5 separate regions of the Homo sapiens genome follow, and regions 1, 2, 4 and 5 are each linked to region 3. The links are contacts of gene promoters, found by promoter capture Hi-C in blood cells and fetal thymus (Javierre and others, 2016). All regions are on one chromosome and are shown on one strand. The core of a region is centred on a gene start or on the middle of the fragment in contact, and the rest is flanking DNA. Distances in the headings are between cores, read along the strand shown. Region 1 overlaps MTA3 (metastasis associated 1 family member 3). Region 2 holds the start of LINC01913 (long intergenic non-protein coding RNA 1913). Region 3 holds the start of EML4 (EMAP like 4). Region 4 has its middle 20 kb from the start of LINC01913. Region 5 holds the start of KCNG3 (potassium voltage-gated channel modifier subfamily G member 3).

Region 1 (5,044 bases), core at 754-3,253, 490 kb before region 3:
GGGTAAAACTAAGTTCTTGCAGTGATTTTTAAAAAGGTATTTTTATCCGGCCAGGCACAGTGGCTCACACCTGTAATCCCAGCAACTCTGGGAGGCCGAAGTGGGCAGATCACGAGGTCAGGAATTCGAGACCAGCCTGACCAACACGGTGAAACCCGTCTCTACTAAAAATACAAAAATTAGCTAGGTGTGGTGACGTGCGCCTGTAATCCCAGCTACTCGGGAGGCTGAGGCAGAAGAATCACTTGAACCCGGGAAGCGGAGATTGCAGTGAGCCGAGATCGCACCACTGCACTCCAGCCTGGGCGACAGGGCGAGACTCTGTCTCAAAAAAAAAAAAAAAAAGTATTTATATAATATAGTTAGGGAAAACATAGGGGCGGTGGAGGTCATTTAAAACAGTTAAAAAGAAAGTTCACATAAGACTTAGTTATCAAAATGTACTAAAATGTGGTGCTTGCACAGGGAAAAATAGATCTACAAAACAAAAGAGAATAGATTAAAAGTCTATAAACAGGCCTAAGTATATCTAGGAACCTAAAATATGATAAAGGGGCATTACAAATCATGAAGAAACAAATTCAATAAATGGTACTGGGACAATTAATTTAATATATGAGAAAAATTAGATCCCTACCTCACTCTATTCACAAAATTAAACTCTATATAGATTTACAGTCCTAAATATGAAGAAAACTTTAAAACCATTAGAAAAAACAAGACACAAGAAATATATAAATTTATATATATAAATATAACTCTAGTTATAGCCTAAAAACTCACACACATGCTCACAAAGGGATATGTGTGAAATTTTCAACATAGCATTATGAGTAACACAGCAAAAGAAAAACGTTTTGAAAGCACTCCAGATGTTCCCTGGTAACAGAATACATAAATAATGTTGTGTAGTATTATATACAAGAATATTGGAAATAATAGAAAGCAGTTAAAATGAATGAACTGTGTTTATATTTATTAACACGGCTAGATCTCAATAATGGGCAAATGGCAAGTGTTACACAATAAATTTAAGCATATGCAAAAGAATATTTATGTTGTTTTGGAATAATAAATAATACAACTATAAAAACACAGACTACATACATAGCAGATCTGTTACAGTGGCTGGCTCTTGAAAGGAGGCAGAGGTAAAGGGAAGTAGGACTCAGAAGGGAATATTAGAGACTTCAACATTAACTATAATGGTTGAAAAAAAAGTTTTTTAACCTGAAGAACTAAAATATTAACATTTGCTTTAGGTGCCCTTATATGGAGTTTTATTACATTATCCTCTATACTATTCTGTAATTTGCTATTATTATGTATAATGCATAAAAAAGGGCTTAAAGAAAACAAAACAGTAAGAACATTCTACTCTGGGTAATGAGAACAAAGCTTTTTTTGGCTGCTGCTGTACTATTTTTTAATTTTTCATAACAGATATACATTAATTTTTAAATTGAGCAAAAATCACTTTGACCAGGAAAAATATATACAGGTAGTTATTAGATTCCACATAGTTCTGGTTCACATAAATATCTTTTTCTTTTTTTTTTTTTTTTTTTTTTGAGACAGGGTCTCACTCTGTTACCCAGGCTAGAGGGCAAGTGGCATGAGCATGATCTCAGCTCACTGCAACCTCTCCTCCCAGGCTCAAGCAATCTCCCCATCTCAGCCTCCCAAGTATCTGGGAAGACAGGCGCATGCCACCACACCCAGCTAATTTTTGTATTTTTTTGTAGAGACAGGGGTTTCACTATGTTGCCCACCTTGGTATCAAACTCCTGAGCTCAAGCAATCCACTGGCCTCAGCCCCCCAAAGTGAAATATCTGATTTTTAAAGTTCTTGCAAACATGACATCTGTACTCTTGCTTCTCTGATAAAATATTCTCGAAGCTCTAAACAACTGAAATACAAACCCATTTTGGAGATCCTAAAATTTGGGGTAAAATATTAATGTCCCAATGGAGAAAACAAAACTTTCTTCTATGAACAATTCTAGTCTTTGAGAAAGGAAAAGGCAAGGAGTTCCACAGCTTTAGTCACAATCTATAATTGTACAGAAGTACACAAAATGCATAAGAAACAAGGCTGGGAGCAGTGGCTCACAACAGTAATCCCAGCACTTTGGGAAGTCAAGGCAAGAGGACTGCTTTAAAGCCAGGAGGAGTTCAAGACCAGCCTGGGCAATCACATAGTAAGACCCTGTCTTTATTTTTATTATCTGATGTGTATTCCTCTATGAGTTCTTACATTATCAAAATAAATATTTTATGAAAAGCATGTCAAATTGGCATTATGATAAGAAAGTTAAAAACCCATATTGTATTCCATTTCATTAGAAAACAATATTGAAACTTTTGTTACATGTAATGAATACTGGTCAAATAACCTCACCAAACTCAGTTTTCTCGTGTGTAAAATGAGCATCCTACCGTGCCTATCACAAGGGGTAACAGGAATCAAATACAGTAAGTAACTTCAATCAGCAAAAAACTCACAGGTCCACTTTTCTGGAGTGCAGAGAAAGCAGTAAGTGCCAGGTCCTATGCCTGACCACGGCAGCCATTAGTGGTAAAATTAAACTGAATATAGGAAGCTTCATTTGATCACCGAAAGAAAAAAGTAAATAGATTTAAAAGATATCAACTATAATGTAATAAAATTATATAGAAAATAGCCCCTCTGGCCGGGTGTGGTGGCTCATGCCTGTAATCCCAGCACTTCGGAAGGCCGAGGCGGGTGGATCACAAGGTCAGAAGTTTGAGACCAACCTGGCCAACATGGTGAAACCCCGTCTCTACCAAAAATACAAAAATTAGCTGGGTGTGGTGGCACGTGCCTGTAATCCCAACTACTCAGGAGGCTGAGGCACGAGAATCACTTGAACCCAGGAGGCGGAGGTTGCAGTGAGCTGAGATCATGCCACTGCACTCCAGCCTGGTGACAGAGCAAGACTCCATCTCCAAATATAAAAAGAAAGAAAAAAAAAAAAACAGCCCCTCTTTCTAATGAACAGACACAAAAAACTCTCAACTCACAGACGAGTGTTATCATAACCCAGTCAACCAAGTAACCAAGCCAAATCAACCTAGCAGTCAGGAAGGCTAAGAGCCCAAAAGCTCCCGGTCTACAGTATTGCCACAATGGCTTTAAAATTAAACAAGTAACAGAAGGATAAATACCCACAAAATTTCAAACCATGTCTTACCAAGGTGATGTCTCGGGAAGCTGCAGCAGCACTCATATGCAAACTAGGCTGCCTCACAGAACTGCTGCAATCCAGGGCTCTGGCGAATGTCCCAACAGCACTGAATAAACCACAAACACAATAAGGAAGAATTAAGTATCTGTTTTGGTTTGTTTTTTTAACGTTTTAAAAAACACATTTGGATAGTAAATAAAAAACTGTAAAAGAAGAGGCAAAAACAAGTTTCTGAATGAGAATCAAACATCAAATAAAAAGAATTTTCACTCTATAAGATATAATAATTGACAAGCCAATTTACTATAAACAGGTCGTTATCATGAAATCAAGAAAAAAAATAGCCTGTGCAGGGGGTAAAAAAGAAGGAAAGGGAAGCTCTGTTATAACATGTCATGGAGTAAAACATTTATTCAAATTGGCTCAAAAAATAAAAAGTCAGCTGCAGAGTTTGACTATTACAGCAAAGCAAGTTTTGACTACTTTTTAAGCCCAAATTGTAAAACTCAGTTACATTTTTCCCCCAATATATCATTAACTGTAGCAACCCCTTCCTGTGAGGATTCAACATGAAACAGATTTCTACTAAAATCTCATTTAAAAAGAAATTACCATAATGCTGATTTTAATGATTTGGAAGTCCTTCCAATATGTAAGAAACCCTAACCTTAACACATACAGCATAAAATGAAGACTCACTGCTTTTCCTGCCTGTATTTTAAACATGTTTGCTATGGAAGAGATTTTTTATTTTTATTATTTTTATTTTTTGAGACAGGGTCTCACTCTGTCACCCAGGCTGGAGCGCAATAGTATGATCATAGCTCACTGCAGCCTCAACTTCCTGGGCTCAAACAATCTTCCCACCTCAGCTTCCCAAGTAGCTGTAACTATAGGCATGCACCACCACGCCCAGCTATTTTTTTTTTTTTTTTTTGGCTAATTAAAAAAAATTTTCTGTAGACAAGGCCTCCCTATGTTGCCCAGGCTGGTCTGAAACTCCTGGGCTCAAGTGATCCTCCCGCCTCGGCCTCCCAAAGTTTTGGGATTATAGGCATGAGCCATTGTGGTTGACCCCTAAGGAAGAAATTTTATAAATATTTTAATTAAAATACAACAAACATGTTGAAAAGTACACAGTAAACAGATAGTTACTGTAAAGTGAACACATGCATGCCACCAACATACAGTTCAAGAAAGAACATGACCACAACCCAGAGGCTCCTCAAGCTCCTTTCCACAGGGAACCACCACCCTGGATTATAGCACCACAGATTAGTTTTGCTCAAATAGAATCACACAGCTGGATATTACGTCCAGCTTCTTTTGATTAAAATTACGTTTGTGGGTTCATCCATGTTGTTAGCTACAGCTGTATTCACTCATTTTCCCTGTTACGCGACATTCCGTTGTACGACGTCTCATCCCCACCTCCACTCTACTGCTGACAGACATTCCATGTGTTTCCAGTTTGGGGTTACTATGAATAGTGCCATAAATCCATTTGTATACGTATCTTTTGGTGCAAAGGTATATGCATTTCTGCTGCATAGATATTTAGGAGTGAAACTTAAGAGATACTTGTGTTAGATGACAGCAAACAGTATTCCAAAGGAGCTGTACCAATTTACACACTCACCAGCAGGATATGAGAGTATTGGTTCTAAATCTTGATCAATGCTTAGCACTGTCAGTCTTTAAAATTTTAACCATTCTGGTGGATTGGCAGTGGTATTTGACTGTGGTCTTAATTTGCATTTAGAAGATCTTTTTTTTTTTTTTTTTTTTTTTTTTTTTGAGACAGAGTCTTCCTCTGTCGCCCAGGCTGGAGTGCA
Region 2 (4,525 bases), core at 804-3,303, 290 kb after region 3:
GGAAGGGCTGGGCTTCGAGACCTGATCCTTTCTCATTTTAATGCTGCTCCCTCACTGTGGTCAGCCTGAGTGGGATCGGCTGCCCGGCCTTCATTTTACCTTTGTTGCCATCTCTCTTTGCGGTGGTTCTTTCTCTTCCTCCTCCTCCGCCTCATAAGCAAAGGGTAAGGCACAGTTCTGAATCTTTGGTTCTGTAAAGAGGCGTGCCCATCTCTGTGCTTGATTCCACTGGAAAAATAAGAACAATTCCTATTATTTTCGGTTCCGAGACCTTGAGTGTGTCAGGCTTCAGGTTCACTTCCTACATCTCTCCACGTTGCCCGGATCTGCAAGTAATTTAACCTTGTTTTTATAGAGCGCAAAGACGTTCCGCTTGTTTACACTGGAGACAAATTTTCCTCAATTGACGCAATCCTATTGATTAAATAATGACCTTCTTCCTCATTTAAAGGTAATTTCGGTTGGTATCATGACGTGGAGGAAGAAAATGAATGCCTTTTCTGTCTTGCTGTCTGAAGGGCAGGCAGTGAGGGCCGACTCCCAGAGCCCTGGGCAGGGCCCTCTCATTTTTCTCACCTGTTCTGGAACTTCATCAGGCGTCGGAGTGGGGCTAGTGCTGGGACCCCTTGAGGAGGTGGGCTAAATAGGACCAGTCTTGATTAGGGAAATTAAAAAGCCAGCATTTGCTATGTAATAAGATGTCAAGGCTGGGGCAGAGTAGATGCTACTTTGTTTTAAAACTTGATTTGCTTTCAAGACTTGTACGTAAATTACTTTTCAAGCTCATATCACACGATATAGTCCGGGCATGTCATTTGAGCCAAGGATTTAAAATCAAAGGGAAAGGCAATGTGCAAGTTCAGGAAGAACTTCAGGGAACAGCTCACACAGGAGAGACACAAAGATGGGAGCCTGGGGTGGTGAGAGAGTTGTTGGGTACTCTTGGGTAAGTCCTTTAACTTCTTCTGGGTCTAGATTCCTCATTGGTAAAACAGGGGTGACTGGATCAGATGACTTCTAAGGTACTTTCTTGGTTCTATGTTCTGTGATACGATGGAATCTGGAGACCCGGTTATTATTTGCTTCCATTCCAGATCCGTGTACTGTCTATTTCCATAAGGATAAGACCAGTGGATGACATTTGGAAGGATGGGACCTCTGTTGTTCCATTTTCTTTCTGTGAGGTCAGGTCAGTGCATTGTGTGTTAGCAATGCCATTTAAGAAATAGATATCCCTATATGTTCTGTAGGAGAATGCATATTTTGCAATGATCTGAAAAATTATCCTAATGCAAATACAGAGTGGCATAAATACCATGGCTGGACAGGAGCTAGACATGAATAAAAGAAAATCGGAGCTGACATTTTAAAGGTTTTTGCCCTATTATAGGCACATCTAGGCATTCCTTCATTTTCTCTTTACCAGAGGTTGGCAAACATTTTCTGTAAAGAGCCAGACAGTAAATATTTTAGGCTTTGTGGGCTATAACATCTTGGTTTTAGCAATTCAACTTTGCTGTAGTAGCAGAAAAGCAGTCACAGGTAAGATGTAAACAAATGTGTGTGGCTATATTCCAATTAAACTTTATGACCCTGACATTTGAATGTCATATCCTTTTCAGGTGTCACAAAATATTTTCTTGATTTTTTTCAACCATTTATAATGTAAAAACCATTCTTAGTTCATAGGCCTTCACAAAAACGGTCGGTGAGCCAGATTTGGCCCCATAACCACAGATCGCTGACCTCTTTTCTTTATTACAGTCCTTTAAGGGAGGAAGTATTTTACCGATGAGAAAAATCAAGGCTTAATGGGGTTAAATAACTTGCCTAGGTTTACCAGTTAGAAGCAAAAGAGCTGGAAGGTAATCTAAAAGGCCAGGTTCAGGCCGGGCATGGTGGCTCATGCCTGTAATCCCAGCACTTTGGGAGGCCAAGGCAGGAGGATTACTTGAGGCCAGGAGTTCGAGACCAGCCTGGGCAACATAATGAGACTCTGTTTTTATATATTTAAAAAAAAAAAAGCAGGCATGGTGGTGCATATCTGTAATCCCATCTACTTGGGAGACTGAGGTGGGAGGATAACTTGAGCCCAGGATTTTGGGGCTGCAGTAAGCCGTGATCATGTCCTTGACCCCCTCCAGCTTGGGTGACAGCAAGATCTTGTCTCAAAAGAAAAAAAAAAAAAAAAGAAAAGCCAGATTCAAGAGCTTAAACACCTACCCTTTAGGGATATCCAGCTAGAGTGATAGAATGTGAAAGACTTTGCTCCCTCTGACATTGATAAATAGTTACAAAATCTCCTTTTTAATCATTCTTACTTTTTCATGATGGTTCACATTCAAAACATTAGAGCAAGATTGGTGTCTCACAAGGCCGGGATACCTGGCTGGCTTAGAAATTACATGGGACAATAACTCAAAATGTGACTGAGCAGGAGGGAGGAGTGAGATGAAGAAACCAAAGAGTTCTGTGAGTACCAGGATCCAGGGAGAGGCCTGGCCACCCTTGTTTGGCCTGGGGGCTGGCTCAGCTTCTGCATCCTAAGGAGGAGATGCCACACCTCCACTGCCTCCCATTCTTGTTCTTGAAGATGATGCATCTTGGAAAGTTCTCTGATGCTTGCCTTTTTTTTTTTTTTTTTTTTTTGAGACAGAGTCTCGCTGCGTTGCCCAGGCTGGAGTGCAGTGGCAAGATCTCAGCTCACCGCACCCTCCACCTTCCAGGTTCAAGTGATTCTCCTGCCTCACCCTTCTGAGTAGCTGGGACTTCAGGCACCTACCACCATACCCAGCTAATTTTTGTATTTTTAGTAGAGACAGGGTTTCACCATGTTGGTCAGGCTGCTCTCGAACTCCTGACCTCAGGTGATTCGCCCGCCTCGGCCTCCCAAAGTGCTGGAATTACAGGTGTGAGCCACCATGCTTGGCCCTCTTAATGCTTTTTAATATTTCAAGAATGGACAGACTGTCTCCAGAGCTACACTGTCACCTTCCAGGGGTGGCCTATGTCTTCTGTCTTCTCCACACTTAGTACAGTCTGGGCACACAGAAATGCAATGATGCCAGGTGAGTGAGGCCTTTCAGTTCTAAAACAGGGTGCTTCAGGAAGTCGTGAGCTGCCTACTTCTGGAAGTGTGTGGTGATGCTGCTGTCAGCAGATGCTGGTGTAGAGGACCACTGCGGGTGGGAGGTGAGAGTGGAGGAAGGTTCGACGATCCTATCCATCCATGTAATAAACATCTGCTGAGCACCTAATGCATGTTGGATCCAAAGTCAGAAGCCCCCACATATATGATTTCTTTTGATTTCCACAACTAGCCTCTGACAGAGGCATGTGATCCCAGTGGCTAGATGGAGAAACTGAGGCTCAGAAGAGCTTGTCATTTTTTTTTTTTTTTTTGAAAAGATGCAAGCAGCGGGGGGCAGAGTCAGTGTAGTCTGCTTTCTGCCTTCCACCACAGGCCCCTCTATCGGGCTGTGTGGAGAAATGGGCTCCAGTTCTTGCTGTGACCCTCGCTAGATGTGTGGCTTCAACAAGTTATCTGACCTCTCTGAGTTTGTTTCTTCATCAGTTTAAGGGTTGACTTTTGGAGATTTGTCATGAAACAAAAAGAGATATTATATAAAAGTGTCTAAAACAGTGGCAGCCATGGCACAGGTTACAGTTGCTTTCTTCCTTCTGCTTCAAGATGATTTGGTTTTGTGAAGTTGACTGAGTCATCAATCTTACTCAGTTTGGGATCTTTAGGGCCTAGCAGAGAGCCGGGCATGGAGCAGACACTTAATAAATATTTGTTCAACGAATGGATACACAATGCTTATATCTACTGATGCCAACCATCTGGATACTCAAATGCTTCAACATGATGGGTTCTTGACTTTTCATCTAAATATTGGATGTCATCTTAAAATATAAGCAGCTAAAATGACGTGAAACATAAATATGAACACAGGTCTCACTGATGCAGATTCCTTGGGGGGAATGTGTAAATCAGTGAAAGTCTGCATAGGGCTGTATTTAAGGAAAGTGATTTGTTGTTTTCAAATAACTCCAGCTATGTCACCAGGTTTATTTATTTACCATCCATCCACCCATTGATGTAATCAGTCAACAGTGGCCCAGAGGGGCTCTTTGGGTGTCCTTTAATAAATAAGAAAGATTATCTGGAGCATGTTGGTTATTTGTAGATACATAGAAGCAGCTCAACTGCTTATGGGAGCTTGGAAACAGTTCGTGCTCAAGTGTTTTGGACATTCCCCCAATATTCTGCATACATTGTTTCTGTGCCTTGTCTCTGAAGAATCTTTATGCTAATTTACGGTCATATTCTTCTCTGCTAACGGGGGTGGGAATGCAGAGAGCTTCTGTCTGTTGCCTCTGAATGTGTGCAGTGCATGTGAAGAGAAAGAGTCAACACAGGCTAGATTCCCTAGGGAGAATCTCATTCTTGATATTGAGAACAACTTACTTGACTTATAGGAGTGAAAATCCTATGAACTGGATGAGGCTGTGCTATTATTCT
Region 3 (4,388 bases), core at 570-3,069:
GGAGCTAAAAAAGAACCAGGGAAAAATGGATGTCTCTCTAAAAAGAGCCCAACCTAAGTAAGGAATTACAAGACATCAAAGGTTAGATAATGGACAACAGGTGCCTTTGAGGAGGAAAGAGTAACACAACACTCAGTTGCCTCCTATTTTAGGATTTCCACTCTGAAAGCAATATAACGACAATTTTTTCTGCCCAAGAAAAAGGGAAGGCCAAAATTATAGGTTTTACTATTTAATATCTATAATAGGCCCATTGCTCTTTGACTTACTTTTTTACTTTAGATTTTAAAAATCCATCTCATCTCGATATTATCTGGATATAGTACGGCCTATGGCCAGACTGCTCACTGATCAGTGAACATTAACCAAGTAGAGACTTATTATCAAGAAATGTAAAAGAAAGGCGTCTGAATACAAGCTACCTGCACATAAAAAACTCAAAATACAGTTCCAGCAGTAGGTATCACACAACTGCGTTATCAGCCAAAGCTGAAACTGTTTCTCTCACCATTCTAACAGTTGAACTTAATCTTTTACTAGATTTCAATGGCCTCGAAGAATAGTAATTCCAGATTCAGCTTCTAGGGCAGCGAATACTAGCCTGGAGTTTTGATTTTCCTAGCCAGAAGATTACCTTCATCTGGTGAAAGGAACACTGAAAAGGCACTTCAGCCTATTTAATAACCTCTTCCCTTTCTCCATTCCACAAAGACAACATCTTCCAAAAATGGAGAATCCTTTCCTTCCCTGATAGAGGCCCCCTTTCCTATTGATTCATTGGGCAGAATCACTTCTCCCCAGCATGTATGCAGAACCAGAAAACACTTCTGCTTTCACTCTTAAAGAGGGTCCCCCAACACAGATGCACCTCTTCCTTTCCTGCATTAAGCAAATGATGCTCCGATGCTTCTAGGTCTCTCCACCACTGCAAAATGCTCAGAGAAGTGGAGGGATTGAAAAGGAAGTTGCCTACTACTCTGAAGGATACTGGAAAGTCGCCTTCAAATCTAAAGTGAAGACTTGGGGGCGGGGGATGCCCCCTTCCTGAAGAGGGAATGAGGGTCCCTCCCCTAAAAAGGAGCCTCTGTTCGGGTGAAGGCGATCCCCACCCTGAAAGAGAGGCGTGTATGTGGAAAGGTGGTGGAAGGTTGTACCCTGAAGAGGAGCCTGGATTTGAAGAAATGTCCCAACTCTGAAGGGGGGTAAGTGGAGGGAGCCGTGAGTGTACGGGGAGGGGTGTGCCAGCTATCGGGGGGCCTGAGAAGGAAGGGGTTCCCACTTTGGGGGAACGAGGGCCCCGCACTGAAAGGGGCTCCGGGAGGAAAGGAGGGTCTGACACAGAGGAGAGTTGGACATGGGGGAGGGGCCCTCAGTCCACCGGAGTCCGCGGAGGGGCGGCAGCCTCGAAGGGAACATGTGCAGTGGAGCCGCTGCCACCCCGAGGGGCAGGCGGGAGGGCAGGGCCTGGGCTGTGTGCGGAAGGAAAAAAGTTCCTACCCTTCGCAGAAGACGCAGGACTCCCCAGCCGTACTCACCGAGACTGCCGGCGAAACCGTCCATCTTGCGGGGAAAGCGCCGGGCTCCGGGCTTAGAGGGGCGGGCACTTCATTCAGCGGACCGACAGAGTGGCCGACGCTGAGCCTGACCCGCTCGTTCTCTAGGTCGCCCGGCTCGGCTACCGGCTCCCGCCTCCGTCGTCCGTCCGTTCGCCCTGGGGTAGTAAGCCGCGGCCGCCCGAACCACTTCCCCGTCACGTTGAGAGCCGCGCCGCTCAGCCGCCTGCCCGGCCTCCCTCCCAGGCAGCAGCCGCGAGCGCCGCGCCGCGCCGCGCCCCGCCCCGCCCCCGCGCCCGCGCGCAGCAGTAGCCCCGCCCCGCGCACGCCGTCACACTTCCGACTCCGCCTCCCACGTGACGCCACGGAGGCGGGGTCTTGCCAGCCCCGCCCTCTCACCTTGCCTCGGCCTCGGCGTTTGTCCGCCTCGCGCCAGGCTGGTGGTTGCGCCTGCGCGGTAGGCCTGCTGAAGGCTGGGGACCACGGTTTGGAAGCTGGTTCCAAACAGGTGGGGATAAGGCATAGACTCTGGCCTGCGATACTCTGATGCATGAAGGATCCTCTCCCTATGTGGCCCCTGGGAAGCCCGCAGAGCCAAGACTGGACCCCCGTGACGGGAGATGACCACCACGTGGGTCCTACAAGGACACTAAAGAAGCAACCAAGAGGGAGAGGTTCTCCCTCTCCCCCAATAGGGTGGGGGACAAATAGGGGCGAAGCTTCTTGACTAGCTCGATACCACCACTGCCACAGCCGCAGGGCCCGGGACAGATCAGAAGCAAGGAATTTTAGTGCTGGACATGACCCAAAAGTTCATCTTGTCTAACCCTTCTTATGAAGAAAAACACAGAGCCTTAGAGAGGACAACCTGCCCAAGGTCATCGAACCTAGTAGAAGCAAAAACTCAGCCTTCCTTACTCTCCCTAGCGTTCTGTCGTCTAGGGGTGCAAAACGACCATATATGGCAGGCTATAGGATGGCCTGCTAGGGAACCATAATAAGGGTTATTTCAAATGAAGTAACACTGAGTTCTAGGCCCAACTCCGTATGACTCAAGAGTGTCAAATCACCTAATTTATTTAGGCGTCACTTTATTCATTTGCAAATTGGTTGTCTGGACATGTAACCAAAACATGTAAATATACATAGCGTTCATATTCTTCCTCCCTTCCCCAACACGATTTCCCATACTTCTAAAGACTTTCTCATGGTTTGTCAAGTCCCTCCTGGGGCTCAGTTGTGCAGATTAGAGTAAGAGAGAGAAGAGCTGTAAGGTACTGAAGAACTGAATTGATCTATACATAATAAATTGATAAATACATAATAAAAAGCTGAGTTAGGGGAAAACAGAGTCCTACTACACAGAGTTGCAGGAGAGAGGGACAAACAAGAAGGGAGACAAGAAATATGTAATGATGAGAGAGACTTAGAGGAATTAAATGATTGAAAGGATTGTTAAACCTTCTTGGGGTATACGTCTCCCTTTGTTGCCTCTTTAAAAATCTTCCCTAAAAATGTAAATTACTTTGCATTTCTTATTTGGATATAAGACCTGTTTCTGAATACCATACTATATGGAGACTGGCCATAACGCAGCCAAGATAAATTCAGGTTACAGACTAAACGGTGTCTAAAATTTCCTTCTCTTCAAACTTAAATGATTTACCCAATGTTCCTTCTGCTATGGGCATTTTCATATGCATAAGTTTCTATTAAGCCTAAGTAAATGTTTGAGAAGTTCTCAATTCTGACAGCTGTTCCTTTGTGTCTTCAGGCCACACTCTCTGCCTTAGGTCGATTAAAAGAATAAGAACTTGGCATATTGGTATACATATGTTTTATGGTCCAGACCTGGAAGTGTGTACCTCCCTTTTGTCCACATTCCACTGGCCAGAACTTGGTCACATGACTGCAAGGGAGGCTAGGAATGTAGTCTGTGTATCCAGAAGGAAAAGAGACATATTTTGGTAACAGCTCTCTGGTTTCTGCCACACTCCCCTTCGTGGCATTCATCAGAGTTAAAATTTTTCATTTGCTTGAATGATTTATTCAATAAGCATCTCATTCATTATACTGTATACTACAAGGAAAGCTGTTAAAATGTAGGAGAGTTAGTACATCCCAGCAGTTAAGAGTGCAGACTCTGGAATCATGCTGCCCAGATTCACATCCCAACTCATCATGTACTAGCTATGAAACACTGGACAAATTACCTAACCTCTCTGTGCCTCCATTTTATTGACTGCAAAATGGAGATGATAACACTTCTACTTCTTAGAGTTTTTGAGAGGATGCTATGAGGTAATATATGTAAAGCACTTAAAACAGGGCACAATATGTTATAAGTGCTCAGTAGGTATTAGCTGCTCTTATTTTGTACCTGTTTTTGCTCTCTATTATATACTTAGTGCATATTACAGAACAGCTTTTTGATAAATATTTATTGAATAATGAACAAACATAGAAGAATTCTGAAAACTAGTCAATCTGAATACATTGTTTCAACAACCAGTGCCTGAGTGTTTTAAAGCAGCCAGAATTTTTGTTTTATATTTATCAAAGTACATCTTGCAATCTAAGCCTCTAATACTACTATGATAAAATAAAATTTAACATACATCTTTCAAAAGTGAAACCATAGCTGAACATTATCAAACACACACACAAATACTAAGGTTCTAAACAGTTACGAATTACTGGAGGGTTATTTTGGTTATTCACCTTAACAAAGGATTTATCTTTAGATTATTTTCAATGTGGAGTTCCATTGCCCCTTTGAGCTCCTTAAGTATAACTTAATTCAGGCAAATGCAAAATATGTGCCGTTTTTCAGGA
Region 4 (5,121 bases), core at 1,997-4,496, 270 kb after region 3:
TTTAGGGTAACCACTCCTGAGATATTTGTAGAATTCTGGCATTCCAATGTTGCAAAATTTAGTTTTAGGGAATGAATTGTGGTTCAAAAAATTCCATTTATATTACAATACTGAGAAAGGTGAGTTCAAAAAATTGCATTTGTGGCACAATATTGAGAAAGATCATTTTCATAAAACTAGCAACTTTTTTGGAATCTCATCCTGTCTTCAGCTCCAGAATTTTTAGAGAGCAGTTGAAGAGACCTCTTTCATTTTGGAAAACTGATTTCAGCATAGGAAAATAAGCCAGATGATTCTTTGCCAAATGAGTTTCCCTAAGATATAATTTCACTAAGAATGAGAAAACTGAATAGCCATTTGCATATTTGTGATAATTCTTAAAGAGATACCCAAAAGGGTTAAATGGCTTGTGATATTTACTGAAAAGGCATATACTTTGATCCAATCTTTGCTGGTGAGCTGGGGTATTTTTGTTGGATGATATGAACAAGTTAATAACTTTTCAGCTGTTCCTCCCCTCCCACCCATGAAAGACCCCGACATTACACACTAACTACCCTTTATTTATTAGAACAGACGAGTGTTATGACTACTGCATATCCACTTTATCAGGCAAAGCACTGAACTCTTTATGCTTTTAGCCATGGGAGTAAGTCCCATTCACTAGGCCCATGATATGTGTTCTATTTTAACTTTTTAGCACAAGGCAATTCCTGGTGAATTATTTAGTTTCCCTAATTGTGCAAAATTGGCCACCTTAGATTTAAGATTCATAACAAGGTCAGTGTTAATGCTGATCATTTCAGGAGCTCTGTTTTGTAGCCAGGCTTACTAATTTTGACCTGTCTGCTTTAAGTTTTTCAAGGCTTCTCAACACACAAAGCTAAGTAATTTCCTGAAATTGTGCCTGTGATGGACACCATGACCAAAAGTTCTCCAATCACATTGAAGTCTCTTTGGAACCATAAATAAATATAGCTGACTGGGTGGTATTATTTTAACTGGGCTCTCATAAGCTTCACTAGGAAATGCCACAAATGATTTAACTTTTTCACACAACCTGTCCTGTAAGTTCTCAGCCATGTCGTCATCTTGTTGAGCAACCAGCGTTTCTGTTTAGTCTTCCATTTGCAAATACTTGTTTTTGTTCAAGGTATGAATTTCTCTATCCTCAGTAGATTCTCTTTTGTAAACTCACCATTAATAAAAGGTTTCAATGCATGAGCAATATTTTCTCCTTCTCCATAACTTCATTTCACAGTTGTGTCATTTGTTTTATTTGCTTTGAAAAATAAAACATGTTAAAACATCAGTACTTTCTTTTAGATCGTTAAGTTTCCCTACCAGCCTCACAGCTTTTTTGTTTGAATTCTTTTGATACTGACACATTTCATTTGCATGTCAAACTTGGAAGAATGATTTTAACTTCTCCAAAAATAAAAAGCTATTTTCCGTTTTTTTTTTTTTTTTTTTTTTTGCAAACATGCAAACACATAGCTCTCGTTGATGCTCTTTTGTGTCTGTCCTTTTGCTTGAGTTATGGATATGTATGTATGAATGTCCATATAAAAGTTACTTTCTTCCCAACTCTGTTATAAGAAAATCATAGTCTAGGACGATGATGAGTGACTACTGACCCTCGGCCTCAGTGATAGGAAGAGAATGGGGAGTAGTGAGGGGTATGGTGGTATGGAAAACTACTCAGCTCCAGAGGACTTATTCCTTGCTGGAATGTGATTTCATTATAGACCTTCTAAATTCTTAAAACTTAAAGAAGGTGTAATATACAAATAGAAAAGTGGATCTATTTTAAGTATATGGCTTGATAAATTTTCCATGAATAGATCATAGATTGAGGAACAGAACAGCATCAGGACCCATAAGGCCCCTCACACTCCTTTCCAATTGAGACCTTTCAGTTTTTTTAAGAAAAAAGTATTTGGATTCATATGTGAACTCTCAATTTCTAACTTTTGTCAAGTAATTGAAAACATTAAAAAAATCCCTTGGGCCAAACAAAACACATCTCTGGCCAGAGTCAGCTCAGAAGACTACAGCCTGAAACCTCTGGTTTCCATGCTTTTCTTACTGTCTGGCAGCTCACACCTCTCTTCTCCTCCATCTAGAGGGGTAGGCAACCATGTTTCTATGTCATGATACCAGCCATGGTTGACCGGGGTCTTTCTCTGGGACTCTGGAAATGGGACACTGGAATTCTCTTTATCCTGGTGATGGTGCCAAAAGTGGCTCCAGGCCTAGAGCAGGCCCTATTCCACCATCCATTGAGGAGCAGAGAAAGCTGATGCCCACAGCGAGAAGGAAGCAGAAGTGCAGAGTGAGAGAGTGGGAGAAACTGCTTGGTTCCCCAATGTTTTTCCAGTTTTTGAGTTCTTGGTTCTAGCCCCTCCTGAGGCCAGTATAGATAAGGGCTGAGGAGCCAATTAGGCTGGTAGGCTTCTTCAAGAATTCCAGAGGAACAGTCAGGTGGGTGGATCAGAGTAAATGATGCTGGTGACAGCCAAGGACTGGCAGCCAAGTGGGCGGGGTCTCCATGTGAGACACTTCTTCACTCAGAGTCACATCCTAGGCCAGTGGGCTGGGATCAGGGGTAGAAGGCCCAGCAGGCAAGTAAAAGATGTATATTCCCTCAGGTGAGCTTGTAACTGAGTTCTAGATTAAGAAATGTTGGAGACTGAATGATTATTTCCAATTCTCCACTCCCTCCCTGCAATAGAATTATATACCCATGCCCTTTGCCATATGGCTTTACATGCACCCTACTAGAGGAGGTAGAGCCTATATTCCCATGCTGTCAGCTGTGGGCTTGGCCAGTTACCTTGCTTTGGCTAATGGAAATATGGATGGACGTGACAACGAGACAGTTCTGAATTGAGGCCTTAAGAGTCATGGGAGGCTTCCACTAGCCCCTTTGTGTGCTGCTTCCATATGTAATGAGAAGAGCCTATCCCAGGTAGCTGCTGGTTCCAGGAGAGAGATATGGAACTGATCTGTACCCAACTCACCACCTGAATCACAGCCCTTCTACCCAACCCACAGATTGTGAGTGAGGAAAATAAATGTTTGTTTTTGTAAGCCACTAAGATTATGGGATGGTTTATTACATAGTATTATCACAGCAATGTCTGACTTATACAGAGAAGAACTGGGTCCTAGGCAAAATTAGGGACAGAAGAGCCTGATTGTATCACAATGGGCCCAGGAGAGGGGAGAGGAGAGCTCAGGCTCAGAGGCAACGTGGTGCAGGAATGTGGGTTCTTAGAGGTCATCCCTGAGGGCACCAGATCCATGTATGATTGGAAAAGGGAAATGAGAGTGGTCTGGGGGAAATACCTGTCACCTCATTGATCATCTGGCTTGAAGGAAAATCAGGAGGAACACAGGAGCCAAGTAGTTGTAACTGAGCTGGTGACATTATTCCAAGCCGTTGTATCTGCTCAAACTTTACATACTCTCCAGCTTGGTTAGCATTGACTCAGGAGCTGTGAGCATCGGTGGATCTAGTTGTGAGGATCCTGGGAGGGTAGCAGCAGGAAAAATAAGGTAAAAGAGGGCACCAGCACCACAGCTCTCAAATGCTCACAAGTGTGAGTGCCTGTGTGTGGTTATCTGACAGCTCTTTTATAAATCTGATGGTTGCTTTCTACCCACCTGCTTGCTGTTTTTGTTGACATCTCAACCTGGAGTGGGTTTGAGGCTGGGAGGCTGAAACATACTCTGACCACATTCACCCACTTTCTGAGAACTTGCAGGCTCAGATGAAGCCTGTGAAACCACAGACCTATATAGGACAACTAGATGAACACGGCACAGTGGGGTGGCCAGTGATATATGTTGCCACAGCAGAGGATCCTGGGCAGTCGTAGCACAGACAGGGTGTTTCTGATTTTCCTTCTTGAAATTCCTCTTCCCAGGGGCTTCCAAGCTCAGGAAGCTCTTGTCATCTCCTAATCGAGGCAGATGAAGATGGGAGTTCTGTAGGGAGGCGTTTCCACTTAATCAAGGCCAGTCATACCCAAGCTCTAGGATTAGACAGATCTGCAGATCTGCGCAGTTACTTGGGCAGCCTGTTTTCTGTCTCTGCTACCTTGTTATCTGGCTCTTCTCTGAATTCCTGTAGCTTTTCCAGGACTTAAACAATGAGATTAACAGCTATCATTTTTTGAATGCCTACCATATGCTAGGCTCTCTAGTGGATCTTTTACAAGTATTATTGATAATAACAGCAAAGATAACTAATATTTACTAAGCATTTGCTAGGTGCCAGGCACTATGCCAAGCCCTATACTTGTATTAACTCACCGAGAATCCTCACAACGAGGCAACATGGGTGTCATTATTTTTATACACAAATAATAAACGGTGGAGCTCACTCCACCATTTGGATCTAGATCGGTCTGACTCCAGAGCTTTTGTTTTTTCACTGGTGATGCTCTCTTGCTTGATCTTGCTCTCTAGCCATGCCAGGACACTGTGCAGTTGGGCACGATAGGCTGGGGCAGATGCAGAGGGCTGGGATATGGAGTTAGATCAGGAGGATGAATGCAGGATGGTAGAAGTCCAGTGAGTCGTTCATGAAGGAGACAGGGATAAGGTTCAACAAGAAGTATGGTGAGGCCCTAAAAGGCAAGAGGAGCAGAGGTACAGACAACCCAGAAGCCATCAGATGTCCTGGCAGGCAGTCCAGGGGCAGGACAGCAGATCCTGGAGGAGACAGAGCTGGCCACAGCACAACTCATAGTTCTGGCTCTGCCCTTTACTAACTTTTGGGCAAATGACTTACCTGCCCTGAATTTCAGTTTCTTCATTTGTAAAATGGGCATAAAGAAACCTCCTTCATAGGGTTGAAATAGCTGAATGAGATAGCAAACATAAAGCACCAGTGACAGTGCCTAGTCCTGAGGATGTGCTCCACACATAGACTGCTACGTTTCTAAGACAGGCTCAGGCACAGAGACAGGGAGAACCCAGGCTATCATAACTGAGAGTCAAATAAAGTGCCCCAGGAGCAGCATTCTAACTAACCTGCTGACTGGGATTAGTATTGGTTTTAGAGACTGGAATGGGGTTAAGTGACCTCATTTCCATATAGAGGGTGGCTGA
Region 5 (4,601 bases), core at 846-3,345, 330 kb before region 3:
CTAAGTCATTAGCCTTTTATATTTTAAAATGAGAGAAGTTTCCATTTGAATTTCCATTCGAAAAGCTGTCTTTAAAAGTACCAACTGATTCGGCAGAGGCTGAGAAATAAACTGATGTAAATGCAAACATTGAAAAATATGAATTAACAGCAGGGCAAGGGCTTTTTAAAGCAGACAGAGTTGATAAGTAAGCTGCATGGAACAGTAGTGCCCACAGGGTATTTCAATTTCTAAAGCTTTGGGGGAAACGGTGTTTGGAGTCCTCGAACACATCCAGTTATGCAATGCAAAGTGATGGAGGAATCTGTGTTCAAGCCAGAGTCAGCAGTAAAAGGGTCACAACTTTTTACTGAATTTTTTGTTTCAGGTTACTCTGTTGTTGGTCACATGTTTAGACAAATCAATTCACTTATCCAATCTGTGTTTATTTAGAACCCAGGAATGAGAAATGAGCATGGCTGATTTGGGCTAAAGGAAGCATACATGAAGTGAGATGTTTCTAGTGTCATGCACTGAGCTATATACCACCTTCACATCAGCTTGTGATCTTTTCATTACCCCTTTGGATGTAGGTATTATTATCTTCATTCTACGGAGGAGAAAAACTGAAGATCAATGAGGTTTAAGGAACTGGCTCCAGGTGGCTTAGCAAATGAGTTATACAGCCAGGGTTTGAGCCTAGAGAGAGCCCTATAGACAATCTGGACTTTTTTTTTTTTTTTGAGATGGAGTCTCGCTCCATCACCCAGGCTCAAGGGCAGTGGAGCGATCTCGGCTCACTGCAACTTCTGCCTCCCGGGTTCAAGCGATTCTCGTGCCTCAGCTTCCTGAGTAGCTGGGATTACAGGGGCGCACCACCACGCCCAGCTAATTTTTGTATTTTTAGTAGGGACGGGGTTTCACCATCTTGGCCAGGCTGCTCTCGAACTCCTGACCTCATGATCCACCTGCCTCGGCCTCCCAAAGTGCTGGGATTACAGGCATGAGCCACCGCGCCTGGCCAATTTGGACTTTATTGTATGGACAATTTCTAATTATCTACTTTTATATACTCCTTTTAGGTTTTGTTTGTTTTGTTTTTTTTTGAAAACCTCTAGTTTCAAGAGGAGTTTTGCTCTTGTAGCCCAGGCTGGAGTCCAATGGCACAATCTCAGCTCACTGCAACCTCTGCCTCCCAGGTTCAAGCGATTCTCCTGCCTCAGCCTCCCCAGTAGCTGGGATTACAGGTGTGCACCACCATGCCTGGCTAATTTTTTGAATTTTTAGTAGAAACGGGTTTCACCATGTTGGCCAAGCTGGTCTCGAACTCCTGAACTTGGGTGATCTGCCTGCCTCGGCCTTCCAAAGTGCTGAGATTACAGGCGTGAGCCACCACACCCAGCCACCTTTCAGGTTTTTGAATTTGGGAATGCCCTGATGAAAATGGATGGAAGGAAGAGCTCTGTGGTGGCCTTATTCAGAATTCATAGAGATAGGAAAGAACTGGAGTGCAAAGAGATGAGGTAGAAGGTTGTGGCAGCAATCCAGGCCCTGGAAACAGAGTGAGCAGAGTTTGACATGAGAAAACCTGATTCTAGCCTCTGCCAGGATGCTGCTGCTGGGAATGCTCGGGCTAGTTACAGCCACATCTCTGAAGCTTTGTAACTTCGGAGGGGAGGAAAAAATGGGAGTAATTTGCTTTTTTTTTTTTTTTTTTTTCCTAGGTTCTGAAACTAGAAAACCTCTAGGTTCTTTCAAACTCTAAAATTCTACCTTTAAATTGTAATGCATTCTAAAGATTTAGATATGAAGACCCTAAATACCATCCCGAGTCTAGGAGAGAATCTGGATGTAATACTTCTCAACATTATCTTCTCAAAGTACAAAGAATAGAATTGGCTTTAAGAATGCTCTCTAAACCAGATTATATTGAGACAAGCCTATCATTTCTGCATCACTGTTTTCTTTGTTTAAGAAAACGATTTGGGTATTGCTGCTGCAGCAGTGGTTGATGATATTAAAATCAAATAAAAATATTACTCTTGAAACAAATGAAATGATTTAAGCCTATCTCTCTAAGAAATCGCATGAAAATATACCTAGGAGGCACACATTGTATTGTCATCAAATTAATTTGTTTTCTAAGCTCAAATGTAATTTAAAATGAGATATTTCTTCAACTGGTTCAATCAACAGACAGTAGAAGGATTCTACGGAGAGAACACAGGAAATAAACCCTACAATAATGTTAGAGCAAACAATCGGCACTATAGTTCTGTCTTCTATTGCTTGTGATGCTTCTAGAAAGTATTTTTTAACGGCTTCCTGATGAATTGGCTCTTGGTATCAAGCCAGGCTCATCTCTGGCTCACATCTGCAAACTTTTCCCCATCCTCACGTCCTACAACAAATCCATCTTCAAGACCTGCAAAGTTCTTGGTCTCAGCGTTTCTCAGAACAGACCCTTCTTCATCTTCACAGACACGGGGTTGGGGATCCCATTCCTGGGTTGCGAAATGACCTTCTCCTTAGAATGACCCAAAGTGCAAAGGCATCTTCCTGAAATAAAGCTTTCATCAAGCCATTTCTGCTATGGAAACCTCCAGGGATTCCATTGCTTATGGGATCCAATTTAAATGCTGCAGTTGAGATCCCCATTGTTTCAGTGGGCAAGTGCATTATACTTCTTCACAGACTTTAAACCTCCACATTCGAGATTTTGCTACTAGGAATGTTTTGCCCTTTCTCTGTGCCAACTCATGGCCATCAGCACCTCCAATTCTGTCTTGAAACTCACTTTCTTACAGATATTTTTCTTGTTTAATATCTACTTAGTAGATACTAAACAGCAAAGTAGCAGTATCTACCCAGTAGACACTAAATAGCAAAATAGATACTGAATAGCAAACTATTTAGTAGATACTAAAGTAGCAAATAACTCCTGTTTTTGAGCTTTTAATCACATTTAGTGCTCTTAAGATAAATTATCCAAGTCTGGGGATAAACAACTCACAGAGATTTTCATTCTTTAAGAAGCCACCGAGAGTGATTTTACTTAAAAGACAGCACTCACATTTTCAGTTGTCTGCCTTTTCACTAGGAATCCACTTAAGAACCAGCGCAAAAGGACTCCGTTTGGCGACCTCTAGCGGGCACCGGACAATCCTACAAAATTACGAAAAGTAGAGGGCAATGAAAAACTCTTCCCTTTAACCAGCCAGGTTACCCTGTGGTCAGATGACCGCATCTCACCCTACCCCACCCTTATTTTTTTCTTCTAGTATTTGTTTTGCATCTAACACGGTTCGCCTTACAACTCACCTGTCTCGCCTCCGGCGGGCTGGGCTGCCGGTGTCGGGTGTCAGGTGAATGAATTGCTGGTAGCAGTTTAAAATAATCCCTGCCAAGTGGAACCCGCTTTCTGGGCACGGACAAGAGCGCGGGGTAGATCGCTCTGCGGAGCCTTCACGGGGCTCTTCCCGCTCGGAGGGCCGGTGCTGCAGCCGGGTCAGGGGTGCGCGGGGGAAATCAAGATATTTTGAAAAGGAGGATGCAGACGAAGACCAAGAGAAAGGCTGTTTTTGCCGGTGACAAGGCGTTCCTCCCCAGACTTTCATCCCACTCTAAGGGCAGCATCTCGAGAGGGTCCAGGCGCGCTACACGTTAGGCGCCTTCTCAGGACTCGCGCCCCAGAACGTGGGGGCCGGGGCCGGGTCGGGGACCGCTTCCCTCCGCGGGCTGGCAGGCGGCACCGAGGCTGGGGGATGGGGCGTGTAGCCGCCCTCTGAGCACGCGGTACGTGGGTCGCCCCGCGCGGCGGTAGGAAGAGCAAAGTCGGCAGGAAAAGCCGTGGCTGGGATGCCTTCCCTGAGAAATCCTTAGGGGCGATGTCAGAACCCGAGCTGGGCTCCGGACAGTTTCTGGAAAAAGCTCTCCAAACGCCGTCTGTCCCCGCACCCGAGTCCACACTGGGCTTTGAACCAGGGCTGTTAAAAGGGGCCCTGGGGACTGCCCAATTCATCCCGATGGCCCAGGGCAGGACGCGGGAGCAGGCATCCCGGCGCTGGGCTCCCCGCTCCCCCGCCCTGCGGACCCCTCCCCGCCACTACGGGCCGGAGCGGAGGGGGAGGACGGCGTCACGAGGCGGGGAGCCCGAGGTCCAGGGCGGGGCGCCCGGGAATCCCAGCCCGAGCAAGCCGGGGAGGTGCGGGCGCGGGCGGGAAGCGGAGGGCGGCGCGGAGGGAGGTGAGCGGCGCGCGCGGAGCCGGCGGGCGAGGAGGAGGACTGCACAGAGGCCCCGCCCCCGCCGCCGCGAGCCGGCTCTTCGCCGCCTCCGAACCCGCTCACTTTGCCTCTCGCCTCTGGACGGCGGCGGGGCGGCCGCCGGATTCGCGGCCGCAGGGAGCGCCGGAGACGGGGAGCTATTCCGCCCCGGCGGCTCCATTCGGCGCCCGCAGCCCTCAGGGGGTCGGCCCCGCGGCTTGGGAGAGGGCACCGCGGCCTCGGTGTGCGCAGCCCTCGGGCGCGAGGGTCGGCGGCGCGGACACAGCCGCGTTCCCAGCCGGTGGGGCTCAGCGCTGGCGCCGGCGAGGACTCCCCGGCCACCCGCAGGTACCGCCGGG

The links. The method cuts DNA at HindIII sites, captures the fragments that hold promoters and counts their contacts. A CHiCAGO score of 5 or more calls a contact.
Region 1: a fragment that was not itself captured here is called in contact with the fragment with the promoter of EML4 in region 3 in 1 of 17 cell types (fetal thymus); the score reaches 6.5 in fetal thymus.
Region 2: a fragment that was not itself captured here is called in contact with the fragment with the promoter of EML4 in region 3 in 5 of 17 cell types (naive B cells, total B cells, total CD8 T cells and 2 more); the score reaches 10.8 in naive B cells.
Region 4: a contact is called between a fragment that was not itself captured here and the fragment with the promoter of EML4 in region 3, in 1 of 17 cell types (total CD8 T cells). The highest score is 6.1, in total CD8 T cells.
Region 5: a fragment that was not itself captured here is called in contact with the fragment with the promoter of EML4 in region 3 in 1 of 17 cell types (fetal thymus); the score reaches 7.5 in fetal thymus.

The regions. Positions count from the first base shown.
Region 1 is chr2:42,658,034-42,663,077 of GRCh38, reverse strand. It overlaps MTA3 (metastasis associated 1 family member 3), which reads right to left. Exons shown (of 17, transcript NM_001330442.2): 8 at 3,216-3,315. Among named protein-coding and RNA genes, the nearest start is that of MTA3, 92 kb to the right of the region's middle. The HindIII fragment of the contact is 1,205 bases long and covers 1,401-2,605 here.
Region 2 is chr2:41,873,353-41,877,877 of GRCh38, reverse strand. LINC01913 (long intergenic non-protein coding RNA 1913) reads right to left here and starts at 323. Exons shown (of 3, transcript NR_033996.1): 1 at 100-323. The HindIII fragment of the contact is 6,409 bases long and covers 1-4,525 here.
Region 3 is chr2:42,166,784-42,171,171 of GRCh38, reverse strand. It overlaps EML4 (EMAP like 4), which reads right to left and starts at 1,819. Exons shown (of 23, transcript NM_019063.5): 1 at 1,536-1,819. The coding sequence starts at 1,560. EML4-AS1 (EML4 antisense RNA 1) reads left to right here and starts at 941. Exons shown (of 4, transcript NR_110584.1): 1 at 941-1,202. RefSeq lists silencers at 1,808-1,867, 1,968-2,017 and enhancers at 1,433-2,085, 2,098-2,237. The HindIII fragment of the contact is 2,496 bases long and covers 1-2,274 here.
Region 4 is chr2:41,895,345-41,900,465 of GRCh38, reverse strand. No RefSeq gene overlaps it. Among named protein-coding and RNA genes, the nearest start is that of LINC01913, 20 kb to the right of the region's middle. RefSeq lists a silencer at 3,693-3,742 and an enhancer at 3,873-3,922. The HindIII fragment of the contact is 4,455 bases long and covers 1,019-5,121 here.
Region 5 is chr2:42,493,706-42,498,306 of GRCh38, reverse strand. KCNG3 (potassium voltage-gated channel modifier subfamily G member 3) reads left to right here and starts at 4,325. Exons shown (of 2, transcript NM_133329.6): 1 at 4,325-4,601. It also overlaps a transcript of MTA3 not described here. RefSeq lists an enhancer at 3,004-3,298 and silencers at 4,053-4,132, 4,223-4,272, 4,453-4,542. The HindIII fragment of the contact is 913 bases long and covers 1,639-2,551 here.